2 separate regions of the Homo sapiens genome follow, and region 1 is linked to region 2. The links are contacts of gene promoters, found by promoter capture Hi-C in blood cells and fetal thymus (Javierre and others, 2016). All regions are on one chromosome and are shown on one strand. The core of a region is centred on a gene start or on the middle of the fragment in contact, and the rest is flanking DNA. Distances in the headings are between cores, read along the strand shown.

Region 1 (7,236 bases), core at 4,398-6,897, 490 kb after region 2:
TTTTAAAGGCAATACGAGTTCTACCAAAGAGAGATACAGGTTAACAGGAATAGTTGAAGAACCCTTCTTGGAGATGAAATATGAGCTGTACTTAGAAAGATAGTGCAAAGAAATAAAATGGAGATTAGCTATTTGTAGATTGTGATATTTCAGCCTTTCCTGCAAGTAACCTCAAGTGCAGCACTGGCCAGTGGAAATACAGTGTGAACCACATATGTAATTTTAAATTTTCTAATAGCCATTTTGAAAAAATGAAAAGGAACAGATGAATTAATTTTAGTAATACATTTTATTTGACCCAGTATATCTAAAATATCCTTTCAGTATGTAATCAACATAAAAATTATTAATGAGATATTTTACATTATATTTTTCATGCTAAGTCTTCAAAATCCAGTGTGTGTTTCACATTTACATCACATCTCAGTTCACACTCGCCACATTGTGTTTAGTAGTCACATGTGACTAGTGGCCACCATATTGGAAAGTTCAGGTTTCTAGTTTATAGGTTGGCACTTAACACTTTTTACTTCTTGCTTGATCTTTGGCTATTAAGTCTTCTTGACCTTGTGTAGATTGCTAGAATTAAACTATTTAGGATCTTGAATTTATTATTGGTTAATGTTTAACATTTACTGGTTATCGTTGTTTTGTGCATGAGCTAGTCTAGGAAATAGAAAACACATTTTTGGAGAGTATTTACTAAATATCTACAGGTGCATGAAACTACCGTAGGTACCATGCATACAAGTGAAACACATAGTTTGCTTTCCAGGACAGAAGTTACTGGTTCACTGGAGATATGGTGGATTCTTTGACCTGAGTCCAGCTTCCTTTCTGTGAATAATTTCTACTTCTGTACCCTTTTGTGTATATAGGACCATTGTATATACCCTGTGACCAGCTATTTCATTCCCTTTTTTCCCCTTATTTTCCTTGTGGAAATACACCTACATTTGTTTTTTCTTTCTTCTATGCTAGTAGCAAGATGTTTAGCAGTATTAAAAATGTATAAGGTACTTTGATAAAGCATTGTGGGGAAGATTTATTGCTAACTTCCCATAAAGTTACAGTTATCCTATATTGTAAAGATACAGCTTACACTTTAGAATCTGACAAGCTCAACCCTTCCAAGCTAATGGTGCTCCTTTAAATTTGTTTCCTGTGGCTTATAGGAGAATGGTAAATCATGAAATAACTAGAACTTAGGAAAGGTATAAACTCCTTTTATATTTGATTACTCTCAAATTTTCATTTGTCTGAATATGTAATGTTAAAAAAATAATTTCACTAAAAGGGAATCAGGACATCTTGGAGGATGACTGATTCTAGGTCTGGAATTAGAAATGTACAAAATGAGCCTGGATGGGGCATCTTGTCATAAAGGAAAGTATGGAAAATACCAGGTCATATCACAAGGATTCAGGAGCTCAGTTCCCACTGGTCAAGACTGGAAGAATATGAACTTTAAAAAGCGTAACTGAAGTGCTTTGAAACTGTAGTAGATGGATATGAAGAATTATTGTTCCTTTTGCCCTGTCGCACTCCTGAAAGCAAGATGATTCACCAGCAGCTCTACTGGAGCCACCCGCGAAAAGTCAGCCAGGGTTCTTGCTATTGTGTCTGCTGAAACTGGGCACAGTCTGATCTGGAAATTGAGCCTCGTTACATGCCACCAGTGTTTCCATCATACGTGAAGGATATAGATTTCATTAAGTTGGACTAAGTGATCTTCCACGAATGGATTATCTAAGGCACCCACCCAATGAGAGAAACCATGTTAGCTTTTTGTACATAAAATAAATATTTTAAAATAATTATTGTTATTTTTTATTTTTATTTTTGAGATGGGGTCTCTCTCTGTTCCTCAGGCTGGTGTGCAGTGGCATGTTCGTGGCTCACTGCAGCCTCCGCATCCCAGGCTCAAGTGATCCTCCCACCTCAGCTTCCTGAGTAGCTGGGACCACAGGCGCACACCACCATGCCTGGCTAATTTTTAAAATTATTTATAGAGACGAGGTCTCACTATGTTGCCCAGGCTGGTCTCACACTCCTAGGCTCAAGCAGTCCTCCCACCATGGCCTCGCAAAGTGCTTGGATTACAGACGTGAGCCACTGGGCCTGGCTTTTTTGTTTTTGTTTTTGTGTGTTTTTTTGAATGTGATAAAGGTAGTGGAAAAAAAAAAAGACACTTGCCTGTGCGTGGTGGCTCACATCTGTAATCCCAGAACTTTGGGAGGCCAAGGCAGGTGGATCACCTGAGGTCAGGAGTTCGGGACTAGCCTGGCTAACATGGTGAAACCCCATCTCTACTAAAAATATAAAAATTAGCCGGGAGTGGTGGCGCACGCCTGTAATCTCAGCTACTTAGGAGGCTGACACATTAGAATTGCTTGAACTGGGGAGGCAGTGGTTGCAGGAAGCAAAGATGGTGCCACTGAACTCCAGCCTGGGCGACAGAGTGAGACTCTGTCTCAAAAAGAAAAAAAAGGATTCTTAAGATACACATTAAAATATTATAGATGAAGCTGGGCACAGTGGCTTATGCATGTAATCCCAGCACTAGGATTAACATTTTTTCATAATAAAAAGCTTTTTCTAAAACTATAGAGACCTTGTTGAGAACAGCACTACAATTTTTTTCTTGTTTTTTTTGGATGGGGACAAGGTCTCACTCTGTCATCCAGGCTAGAGTGCAGTGACGTGATCATGGCTCACTGCAGTCTCGACCTCCTGCTTCAGCCTTCTGAGTAGCTAAGACTACAGGTGTGCACCACCACACCTAGCTTTTTAAAACAAATTTTTGTAGAGAGGATCTCGCCATGTTGTCCAGGCTGGCCTTGAACACCTGGTCTCAAGTGAATCCTTACACCCCAGCCTCCCAAAGTTCTGAGATTGCATACCTGAGCCACCATGTCTGGCCTACAGTTTCTTTTCTTTTCTTTTCTCTTTTCTTTTCTTTTTTTTTTTCCTTTTTTTTTTAGACACAGGAGTCTCGCTCTTGTTGCCCAGGCTGGAGTGCAATGGTGTGATCTCAGCTCACCGCAAACTCTGCCTCCCAGGTTCAAACGATTCTCCTGTCTCAGCCTCCTGAGTAGCTGGGATTACAGACATGCACCACCATGCCTGGCTAATTTTTTGTATTTTTAGTAGAGACGGGGTTTCTCCATGTTGGTCAGGCTAGTCTCAAACTCCCGACCTCAGGTGATCCGCCTGCCTTGGCCTCCCAGAGTGCTGGGATTATAGGCGTGAGCCACCGTGCCCAGCCAGTTTCTTTAGTAATTCATTTCTGTGACAGTTACCACTGTGGGGACATTTGTTCTTGCATCAAATCACTGTTAGTTAAGGCTATTCATGTTCTGTCCAACAGCTTGGCACCAACACCTGCTTACTTTCCTTTTCTCTTTTACCCTCTCTTCTCAGTTCTCTCTTTCCAGACGTAGTGAACTGTATGCAGACTGACAATCTGGAACTAAAGAAGCTTGTGTATCTCTACTTGATGAACTACGCCAAGAGTCAGCCAGACATGGCCATCATGGCTGTAAACAGCTTTGTGAAGGTAACTTTTCCCAAGGCCTCAATAACAGAGTTTGAATTGCAAATAAGTAACCTCTGTTCACAAGGAAGGAGTGTAGGGAAGTGTTGGCAATGACTAGGAATGTTCATGTTTTAAGCATTCTGTATACCAGTGTGTGTCATCCAGGGAAATTCAAACCATGTGCTGAGCTTTCTGTTAGTGGGGCTTGGTGCATCCTTGCCAGATGGGTAGAAGAAAACCTGGTGAAACCCCACTGTTTTACCTTCTGAGGCTGACAAAGGTGGGCATATCATTGTACTATCAGTAATTGGGGGCTTTACCTATTTTATCTTTGTAGAAATTATACTTATGAGTCAGCAGTAGTGGAGACTGCCGGAGTTTCTACTTTCATTTCATTTAATACGTCTTACATCATTTGATTAATTTTTTTTTTTTTTTGATACAGAGTCTCACTCTGTCACCGAGGCTGGAGTGCAGTGGCACGATCTTGGCTCACTGCAACCTCTGCCTCCCAGGTTCAAGTGATTCTCCTGCCTCAGTCTCCCAAGTAGCTGGGATTACAGGTGACCGTCACCATGCCCAGCTTATTTTTGTATTTTTAGTAGAGACAGGGTTTCACCATGTTGGTCAGGCTGATCTCGTGCTCCTAACTTCAAGTGATCCACCCACCTCAGCCTCACAAAGTGCTGGGGTTACGGACACAAGCCACCACTCCCGGCGTGATTAATTTTTTTTAATGGAAAATTTTAAACATATTCAAGAAAAAGGACTAGTATAATAAATTCCTAAATATCCGTCTTGCAGTTTTAACAGTTACCGACACATAACCACTCTTGTTTGTAATCCTCATACATATTTTCTGACCTCCAACCCCCTCTCCTGCTGGATAATTTTAAAGAAATCCTGAACATCATATATTAAATAGTTTTGTCTTTATATTTGTCAAGATAAGATCTTTTATTTAAACATAACCACAATATCATCATGTCTTTAAAAATGGACAAAATATTTTCTTATTATTGAATATCCAGTCAAATCTTTCCTATCATAGATTTAAAGAAAATAATAATGGGATCATTCCCATTAATTTTTTTTTTTTTTTGGTGACAGAATTTCACTCTTGTTGCCCGGGCTGGAGTGCAATGGCGCAATCTCAGCTCACCACAACCTCCGCCTCCCGGGCTCAAGTGATTCTCCTGCCTCATCCTCCCGAGTAGCTGGGATTACAGGCATGCACCACCACACCTGGCTAATTTTGTATATTTAGTAGAGATGGGGTTTCACCATATTGGCCAGGCTGGTCTCGAACTCCTGACCTCAGGTGATCCGCCCACCTTGGCCTCTCAAAGTGCTGGGATTACAGGCGTGAGCCACCATGTCCAGCCTAATATTTTTTTAATAGTTGTTTTTTCTCTGTTTGGAACTTAGTGTACATTTAAAAAAAACAGACAGCATTTCTAAAATTAGCTTCTATTTAAAATGTTTTGAAAAATAAGCAATATGCTTTCTTCTTTCTCATGAACTTTTTGTTCTTTTCCTGTGTTTAGCTACATTATAGAGTCAGAACGTAACAGTTTGTTCTCCATGACTGGTGGTTCATAGAGGGAATATATCATTGGGAAGAATTTAGTTTACATTTTTTGGAAGTTAGAGTTGTGCATAGATTTACATGGGCTTAAAGACATTTTTTTAGTGTAAGGCAGTTTAAAAGAGTGTTCTTTCTCCATATTCTATTTACTATATTTGGAAGCACTTGCTAGTAAAAGAGAATGTATGTTAGCCAAGAGCTCAGAGGGCCTTCTCTGCTGCTTAACTCCAGGTACTTATTTCAAGCCCAGACCAGCTCCTGTGCTCCCCTTTGTTTTCTTGGCTGCAGGCCACAGAAATCTAGCTCTCTTTTCTATTTGATGTTTAGGAACTCACTGTGGAGTAGGGCACGGTCTTTACAGCTCCTCTTTTTTTTTTTTTTTTTTTTCCTGTGCCGGAATACAAGCCCAAAAGCTTTTCCTGTTTTTAGGGTAGATCCTAATGGCTGTGGGATGGTACGAACTCCCTAAACCTCTGCCTGGCACTAGAGTGAATCCTGCTGAGCTGTTTCTCATTTTGTATTTAAAACAGTTAAATGACTTCTTCACCTAAACTCTTAAATAGGGCAGCTAAGATTTGTACTTAGGAAAGGAATAGCATGGAAGATTGGAGCTCATGTAGAATGTATCTGGAAGCTTAAATTAATGAGGTAATTCTTTTGCAGCTTACATAAACTGGACTGTTTACTTTTAGCCACCATGTATACCTACAGTTGTTGGTGATTGTTTTCTGCAGGACTGTGAAGATCCTAATCCTTTGATTCGAGCCTTGGCAGTCAGAACCATGGGGTGCATCCGGGTAGACAAAATTACAGAATATCTCTGTGAGCCGCTCCGCAAGTGCTTGAAGGATGAGGATCCCTATGTTCGGAAAACAGCAGCAGTCTGCGTGGCAAAACTCCATGATATCAATGCCCAAATGGTGGAAGATCAGGGATTTCTGGATTCTCTACGGGATCTCATAGCAGATTCAAATCCAATGGTAATAAGCTTCTGCTTTTACAAAGAGAGCAGTATTTAAAATGAGTCCCTTGTTAAAGCGTGTTTAATATGAACCTTGTCTTTGGAATACTGGGTTATGGGGTAGCTATGGGAAACATGACTTTGTGTGTCTCACAGATTGTATATTTCATATCCTAGGTGTTTTTGAGGTGAGAACCAAGTACTAAAATGCAGGGATCTTAAAGCAAATCTTTGTATTGTACTTATGCTCATATTTGCCCATATTGCCCATGATGAAAACTTTCATCATTTTCTTCAGGAGGTTTGGCCGTAAATTTATATATATTTAAGATTATTTTCTTCAGATCAATATTTGTGGTATTTTCTGGTGGTGTGGGACTAGAAACTGAATGAAAATGATCTTTATTACCTAATTATTATCATGCATTTCTCTATAGGGGAATTTCTAGGGCAAGATTATTTTTAGCCAACTTGGTTATGTTGTAAATGTTTAGCAGCCAGAACATAGCTTAACACCTTAAAGTTTTGGGACCTTTTCCTTATTGACATTTTAAACTTTGCTTATATAATGAAGAAGGTCAAGTCCCAAGTGATATGTTTGACTCCAGTAATAACTAAAGCTCATTTGAATTGGGTACTAATTGAATATATTGGATGGGTCATTAAATATTGTTGCCAGGAAGATGGAGGAAAATAGCCACTTTCTTTAAAGTGCTACCTTTTTGGTCTAATGCAATGTTTACTGAAAGGTGCATAACACTAAGAGTTAATCAGTGGATAACCTTTGAATATTCCCTTTTAAAAATTATTTATCTATCTATTTATTTATTTTTTACAGATAGGATCTTGCTCTGTGGCCAAGCTGGAGTGCAGTGGTGCAGTCATAGCTCACTGTAACTTTGAACTCCTGGGTTCAAGCACTCCTACCTCAGCCTCCTGAGCATCTAGGACTGCAGGCACATGCCACCACATCCCGCTAATTTTTTTTTTTTTTTTGAGACAGAGTCTTGCCTTGTCGCCCAGGCTGGAGTGCAGTGGCGTGATCTCAGCTCACTGCAAGCTCCGCCTTCCAGGTTCATGCCATTGTCCTGCCTCAGCCTTTTGAGTAGCTGGGACTACAGGCGCCTGCCACCACGCCTGGCTAATTTT
Region 2 (6,468 bases), core at 1-2,500:
CAACCAGGGCCTGCCAAAGGGCCCCAGACTGCTCAGCAACAAATTGCCCGTAGAAGCTGGCATCCCAGGGTGTCATTCACCCTACTTCTCAATATCTGAGAACCCTCTGCTCCCTTTGGCTTGGGATGGACTTTTGTTATTGTTGTTGTTTCAGACAGGGTCTCACTCTGTCGCCCAGATTGGAGTGCAGTAGCACGATCTCGGCTCACTGCAACCTCTGCCTCCCGGGCTCAAATGATTCTCCTTCCTCAGCCTCCCGAGTAGCTGGGATTGTAGGCGTGGGCCACCACACCCAGCTAATTTTTGTATTTTTAGTAGGGACAGGGTTTCACCATGTTGGCCTGGATGGTCTCGAACTCCTGACTTCTGACTCCAAGTGACCCACCCGCCTCGGCCTCCCAAAGTGCTGGGATTACAGGCATGAGCCACCGCGCCCAGCTGGCTTGGGATGGACTTTTTAAAAAGACACTCAGGTTTGGAATGTGGAGATCAGGAGCTCACCTTGTAAGACAAGCCACATTTCTGAGCTACCTCTTCCAGGTCTGCAGAAACCAGGTCCACCACTGAAAACAAAACACGTATAGCGGATTGGCAGAGAGGACTGGGGCCTCCCACACTTGGTTTTTCCTCATCTGTCAAATGGGGTGTCAATTCTACCCCCCGGCAGGCCGTCTCAGGAGGCCAGTGTGAAATAACAAAGCTGCAGGAGCCGGCGCGGTGCCCTGCACACAGTAGGAATCTCTACCCTGTTTTAGAGCTTGGCTCCCCACGCCCACCCTTCCTGAGCCTCTCCAGAAGCGCGGCCCTCTAGGAATGGAGGGGAAGCGCCCTGCAGGTATGCCAGGGCAGTGCGCCAGCCCTCGGGGCCTGCCCAGGTTGTGCGAGGCCCGCGCGGCTCCCTGGCACGCGCACACCCGGTCACCTGTCTTGATCCTGTGGCTCCTGAGAAGCTGGATCATCTCCTCGGTAAGGCCAGGGCACAGTCCGACCCTGAGCACGCCCATGTTCCCCGCAGGCCGGAACAGCCCCAGGGGGACTGCACGTCACGTGGGCATTCGCGGGGGGTCCTCTCCAGACGCCCCTCCCCTACCCCTTCCTAGAGAGGACACAGGCGCGCTGGCTGCCGGAGGAGAAAGGAGAGAGGAGGAGGCGGCACCAAGGGTAGGGCTGGGGGTCATCCGCCCGCCCGGGATCCGCCGGGATTCCCGCGCCCAGAGCCCGCCCGCCGGGTCGCGCCGCGCTGCCGCTTCCGGGTTCCAGGCTGGCGCGCGGCGAGGACCTGGCCTGCAGCGCCATCTGCGGGCCGCACGGGGCAGAGCCGCTGCGCCCCTCTCCACCGCCTGCACAGGTTCCCGAGTCCCACGACCCCCTCCGCGCTCAACACGCCACCCGCGGCCACATTCGGCCTCTACCTTCTGCCGCAACACACACACCGACCTTCTAAAGAGCCTTCTGTGCGCCAGCTTCCGTTCCAAACGGAACGGATCTCCGCTGGAGACAAAATGCGACACAAGACGACCCGCCCTTACCCCCAGGGAGCTTACTGTGAGCAAGGGAAAGACAGACAATGAAAAGGAATCGCAGAAATCACATCATTACAGATTATACGACAGGTGTCAAGAAGCAGCAAAGCATCCAGAGGGCACCTGCGTCTATTTTTCAAAAGTTTGTTTTGTTTTGGTTGAGACAGGGTCTCGATCGGCCGCCCAGGCTGGAGTGCCCTGGTGAGATCTCAGCTTTGCAGCCTCGACCTCCTGGGTTCAAGCGATCCTCCTGCCTCAGCCTCCTGAGTAGCTGGGACTACAGTCACGTGCCACCTTGCCCAGCTAATTTTTGTATTTTTTGTAGAGGTTTCGCCTCTACAAAATGGGGTTACACCATGTTGCCCACACAGGTCTCGAACTACTGGGCTCAAACAATCCTCCTGCCTTGGTCTCCCGAAGTGCGGGGATTACAGGTGTGAGCCACCGTGCCCGGCCTCTATTTTTTATTTTATTTTTTATTTTTTTTAAGGGCAAGAAACCTTGGTTATATAGAACACACACAAAAAGATATGATTTGGTATTTTTAAATGTCCTTTGCTTTGCCTCATCCATAGGAAGAAATAAAACTTTACATGGTTATCTCATCACAAATCTGTGAGGGAGGCGCTATTTTTTATCCCTGTTTCACCAATGAAGAAACTGAGGTTCAGTGAGGTTAAATCACTTGCCAAAGGTCACCCAGCTAGGCGGCACAGGGCTGGACTTCACATCCACATCTGACTCTGCAAAGCCAGTGCTTTCTAACAGCCCCCCTCCCCACCCCTGAAGCTGTGTACATGTTTTCCTACTGTAAGGTGGTTTCTCTGAGAGCAGAGATCATGTGTGGCCCATCTCTGTATCCCACTGCAACTGCCACCATTGTCACTCCACACAGGAAAGTACTTGGGAGTGTGGGTGTGGCACATTTAGAATTCTAGCAGTGAAGTCTGATCATATGTGAGCCATGAACCCCTATGAACCATGTGGGCTTTCCCTTTCACTAACCGACTGGGCACAGTGGAGTCTGCAGCCTATGGTTTCAGGATAGAGAGCCTTAGCTTCTACGGACAAAGTTTCCCTCCCCAGCAGACACTTTCCAATACTGCCTATCTCTCAGGGCCACACCACCATCCTCTACATCCCACGCCCATCTCTCACCATCCTTATTCTCCTTCCCAGGGCAGTGCGGAAGGACACAGGTGTCAGGCATTTTGAGATCTTCAGAGAAGGGCAGGGCTGCCATCACCATGGAGTATTAGAGCTGGAAGGGGCCCAAGGGCTCATGCAGTCTGTTCCTTGGTTTTACCCCTCTCATGATGCTGCTTCACAGTCACACTGGCCCTTGGTCTGGCCAGCCACATAGCTAGCCTGGCAGCAGTAGCCTCAAATCAAGGGGGGAGGCTGGCCTGTAATTGTTACACTCTGTGATGATTATGAAGTCAGCTCATTGCACCTGCAGACTGTCCAAACTAAAGGTGGGCCACTGCCCCCACAGTTTCTCTCTGCTTCTGGTCAGCTGGGTTGTCCTGCATGGTGACGGGTGTCATCCCGAACAAATCAGATGGCATCAGAGGCACTCCATCAAGTGGGAGATGGGGAGGAGGCTGTACTGAAGAAAGAAAACTTCAACATGATGAATGCCCTTGACCAACTGCCAAAACCCTTTTCAAACCCCAAGTCTATGAACCGGACCGTCACTACCAAAGGACTCCCACTAGCCTCAAAGGGCAATTTGGTCAACTTCTTGGAGGATGATACCATCAACCTACTGTAAGTCACAAATCTGGTCCCTCCCTCCCTCCCTCCCTCCCTCCCTTCCTTCCTCCCTTCCTTCCTCCCTTCCTTCCTTCCTTCCTTTTTTTTTTTTTTTTTGACAGGATCTTGCTTTGTCACCCAGGCTGGAGTGCAGTGGTGCAATCTCGGCTCACTGCAGCCTTGAATTCTTGAGCTCAAGTGATCTTCCCACCTCCACCTCCCAAGTAGCTGGGACTATTGACGCGCCACCACCACACCTGGCTAATTTTCATATATATATATATATATATATATATATATATATATATATATATATATATAAATTTTTTTTTTTGGTAGAAACGGGGTTTCACCGTGTTGCCCAGGCTGGTCTTGAACTTCCGGGCTCAAGCGATCCTCCCGCCTCAGCCTCCCACAGTGTTGGGATTATAGGCTTGAGCCACCATGCCTATAGTTTCTAAGAAAGGCTGGAGCCGAGGGCTGGGCAGAGAGACAAAGAATCTATACTTCCCTGACTTGTCACAACCCAGTTCCTTGACTCCCAGAGAAGAGCGTGTGGGCAGGTTGGATCTATTTATGTATTCCTGAGCCCCAAATCACTTCTTGGAGGCATATGGAGCTCCCACTCCAGGAGGCCTTCTTGGATTAGTCAGTTTGTTGACAGTGCTCCTTATCCTGCCTTGACTGGCTGTGGTCCTCACCATCACCAAATCCCTGACACACCCATGGCTCCTCTTCCTCAACCCTCTCTCTTTGGTACCTTCATCTACCTGACTGCTCCCCAGTAGCCTGCCTTCCTTCGGACTGGGTTTTGCTGTTCCTCCTCACCAAGTCTGGTTTTCCTCTACTTCATTCCACAAAACTCTTTGAGCACCTGCAAGGTGTCTGTCCCAGTGTTTAAGTTCTGGGAACGCAGAGCTGGAAAGCACAGTCCCTGCCTTTAAGGAGCTCCCAGTCTGGCATGTGGAGGTCAGGGGTGAAAGGATGGGGATCATGCAATAACCAGAATGATATAGCATGGTCTGGTAAGTGCCAGGACAGGATGCCTTGAGGGACCAGAGGGGCTTAGTATAGCTTGAGACTGGGTGCAGTTGAAGGAGGCTTCTTGGAGGAAGTGATATTTGAGCTGAGTCTCCAAGGAAGGAAAGGAGTTAGCCAGTGAAGGGGTGGTGGTACAGGGTGATGTGGGCTGAGGGAATTACTTGCAGGTCACCCACCACATGGGTGAATGACCTGTGCAGTCACAAATAGCCCTGCACTTACAAGGGGCCTGTGCTTAGTTTAATGCTTTTCTGTTACTATCTTCAAATTCAGAATTTTTGAATAAGGGGCTCAGGGTACTTCAATTTGCACTGGGCTCCACAGACTACATAGCTGGTCTTGAGTATGTGAGAGGGATGTGGTGTCCATTCCCCAAAGTGCCCGTAAGCAAGCAGGTATGGCTAAAGTGATGGATGCTCGTAGGAAACTTCATGGTATACTGGGAATCTTGGACTAGAAGCCCAAACTCAGATCCAAGTTCTGCCACTTAGAGATTTATGGTCTTAGACAACTTAATTAAGATCGGAGGCCAGATGGGGTAGCCCACGCCTGTAATCCCAGCACTTTGAGAGGCTGAGGCGGATGCATCACTTGAAGTCAGGAGTTTGAGACCAGCCTGGCCAACATGGTGAAACCTCGTCTCTACTAAAAATACAAAAATTAGCTGGATGTGGTGGCACGCACCTGTTGTCCCAGCTACTCAAGAGGCTGAGGCGGAAGAATCCTTTGAACCTGGGAGGTGGAGGTCGCAGTGAGCCAAGATTGTGCCACTGCACTCCAGCCAGGGGTCTGGGAGACAGAGCAAGGCTCCATAAAAAAAACAAAACAAAACAAAAAAAAAAACAGATCAGGGACCCTCAGCCCCTTGTTTGCCAAATGGGGCTAACATCCATCCAGCAGAGCTGTTGTGAACATCAGGAGGAGGAGATGTTCAGCATGTAGCCAGTGCCTAGCGGCCTTCTGTGCTTGCTTCAGTACCAGCATTTGCAGTAAGTGAATCTGAAATATTAATTCATTAGGACAATCTAAAGCACATATGACATTAATACCCAGACTCTTCAGTCTACAAAAGACCTTGGTGGGGGAATCATTTATTCCAAATGTCCACCAAGCGCTAGCATAGGGGATCTGGGCTAATCAGGATTTCTCAGGAGGAGGCTGATGAGGCTGGAACCTGGGGAGGAAAAACTTGGCCCGTTCATCAACCAAGACCTGGGAGGCTGGATGGGAGTAAGGGATCCACAAACTGTGGATTGTGACCTATTAATGGGTCAAGAAGTCCTTCTAGTTGGTGAAGACCACTATGATAAAAATAAACTGGCTGGGTGCAGTGGCTCACGCCTGTAATCCTAGCACTTTGGAAGGCCAAGGCGGGCAGACCACGAGGTCAAGAGATCGAGACCATCCTGGCCAACATGGTGAAACCCCTTCTCTACTAAAAATACAAAAATTAGCTGAACATGGTGGCCGCACCTGTAGTCCCAGCTACTCGGGAGGCTGAGGCAGGAGAATCACTCTCACCCAGGAGGCGGAGGTTGCAGTGAGCTGAGATCACGCCACTGCACTCCAGCCTGGCTGAGAGAGTGAGACTCCATCTCAAAAATAAATAAATAAATAAATAAAATAAACTATAATAGAATTGGAAATTCCAGAGCCCATTGCACACAGAGTAAGTGTTGGTCTGTGAAATGTTTGTCTTAGTTATAGGCGTATATATGCATGTACTAAGTTGCCATGGAAAGTGTATTTTACTTTGGGTAAAGGTAAAAAAAGATTTGAAAGCCAAACTTTTTGGCTTGGTGTTCTTCATCAGTTAAAAAAATATTGTTTTTTGTTTGGCTGGGGGCAGTGGCTCACGCCTGTAATCCCAGCACTTTGGGAGGCTGAGGCCGGCAAATCATCTGAGGTCAGGAGTTCGAGACCAGCCTAACCAACATGGTAAAACCCCATCTCTACTAAAAATACAAAAATTGGGCAGATGTGGCAGTGTGGGCCTGTAATCCCAGCTACTCGGGAGGCTGAGGCACGAGAATCGCTTAAGCCAGGGAGGCGGAGGTTGCAGTGAGTCGAAGTCACACCAGTGCACTCCAGCCTGGGCGACAGAGCGAGACTCCAGCTCAAAAAAAAAAAAAAAGAAAAAAGAGTAAAA

The links. Contacts are between HindIII fragments. The CHiCAGO score rates a contact against its expected background, and 5 or more counts as called.
Region 1: a contact is called between a fragment that was not itself captured here and the fragment with the promoter of RAD51D in region 2, in 2 of 17 cell types (total CD4 T cells and total CD8 T cells). The highest score is 7.2, in total CD4 T cells.

Annotation. Positions count from the first base shown.
Region 1 is chr17:35,602,282-35,609,517 of GRCh38, forward strand. AP2B1 (adaptor related protein complex 2 subunit beta 1) reads left to right here. Exons shown (of 22, transcript NM_001030006.2): 4 at 3,424-3,559; 5 at 5,861-6,106. Among named protein-coding and RNA genes, the nearest start is that of AP2B1, 19 kb to the left of the region's middle. The HindIII fragment of the contact is 221 bases long and covers 5,538-5,758 here.
Region 2 is chr17:35,118,610-35,125,077 of GRCh38, forward strand. It overlaps RAD51D (RAD51 paralog D), which reads right to left and starts at 1,251. Exons shown (of 10, transcript NM_002878.4): 1 at 923-1,251; 2 at 502-563; 3 at 1-10. The coding sequence starts at 1,004. It overlaps RAD51L3-RFFL (RAD51L3-RFFL readthrough), which reads right to left and starts at 2,913. Exons shown (of 7, transcript NR_037714.1): 1 at 2,682-2,913. FNDC8 (fibronectin type III domain containing 8) reads left to right here and starts at 3,006. Exons shown (of 4, transcript NM_017559.4): 1 at 3,006-3,293. The coding sequence starts at 3,085. RefSeq lists a silencer at 1,114-1,313 and an enhancer at 1,524-1,583. The HindIII fragment of the contact is 14,701 bases long and covers 1-6,468 here.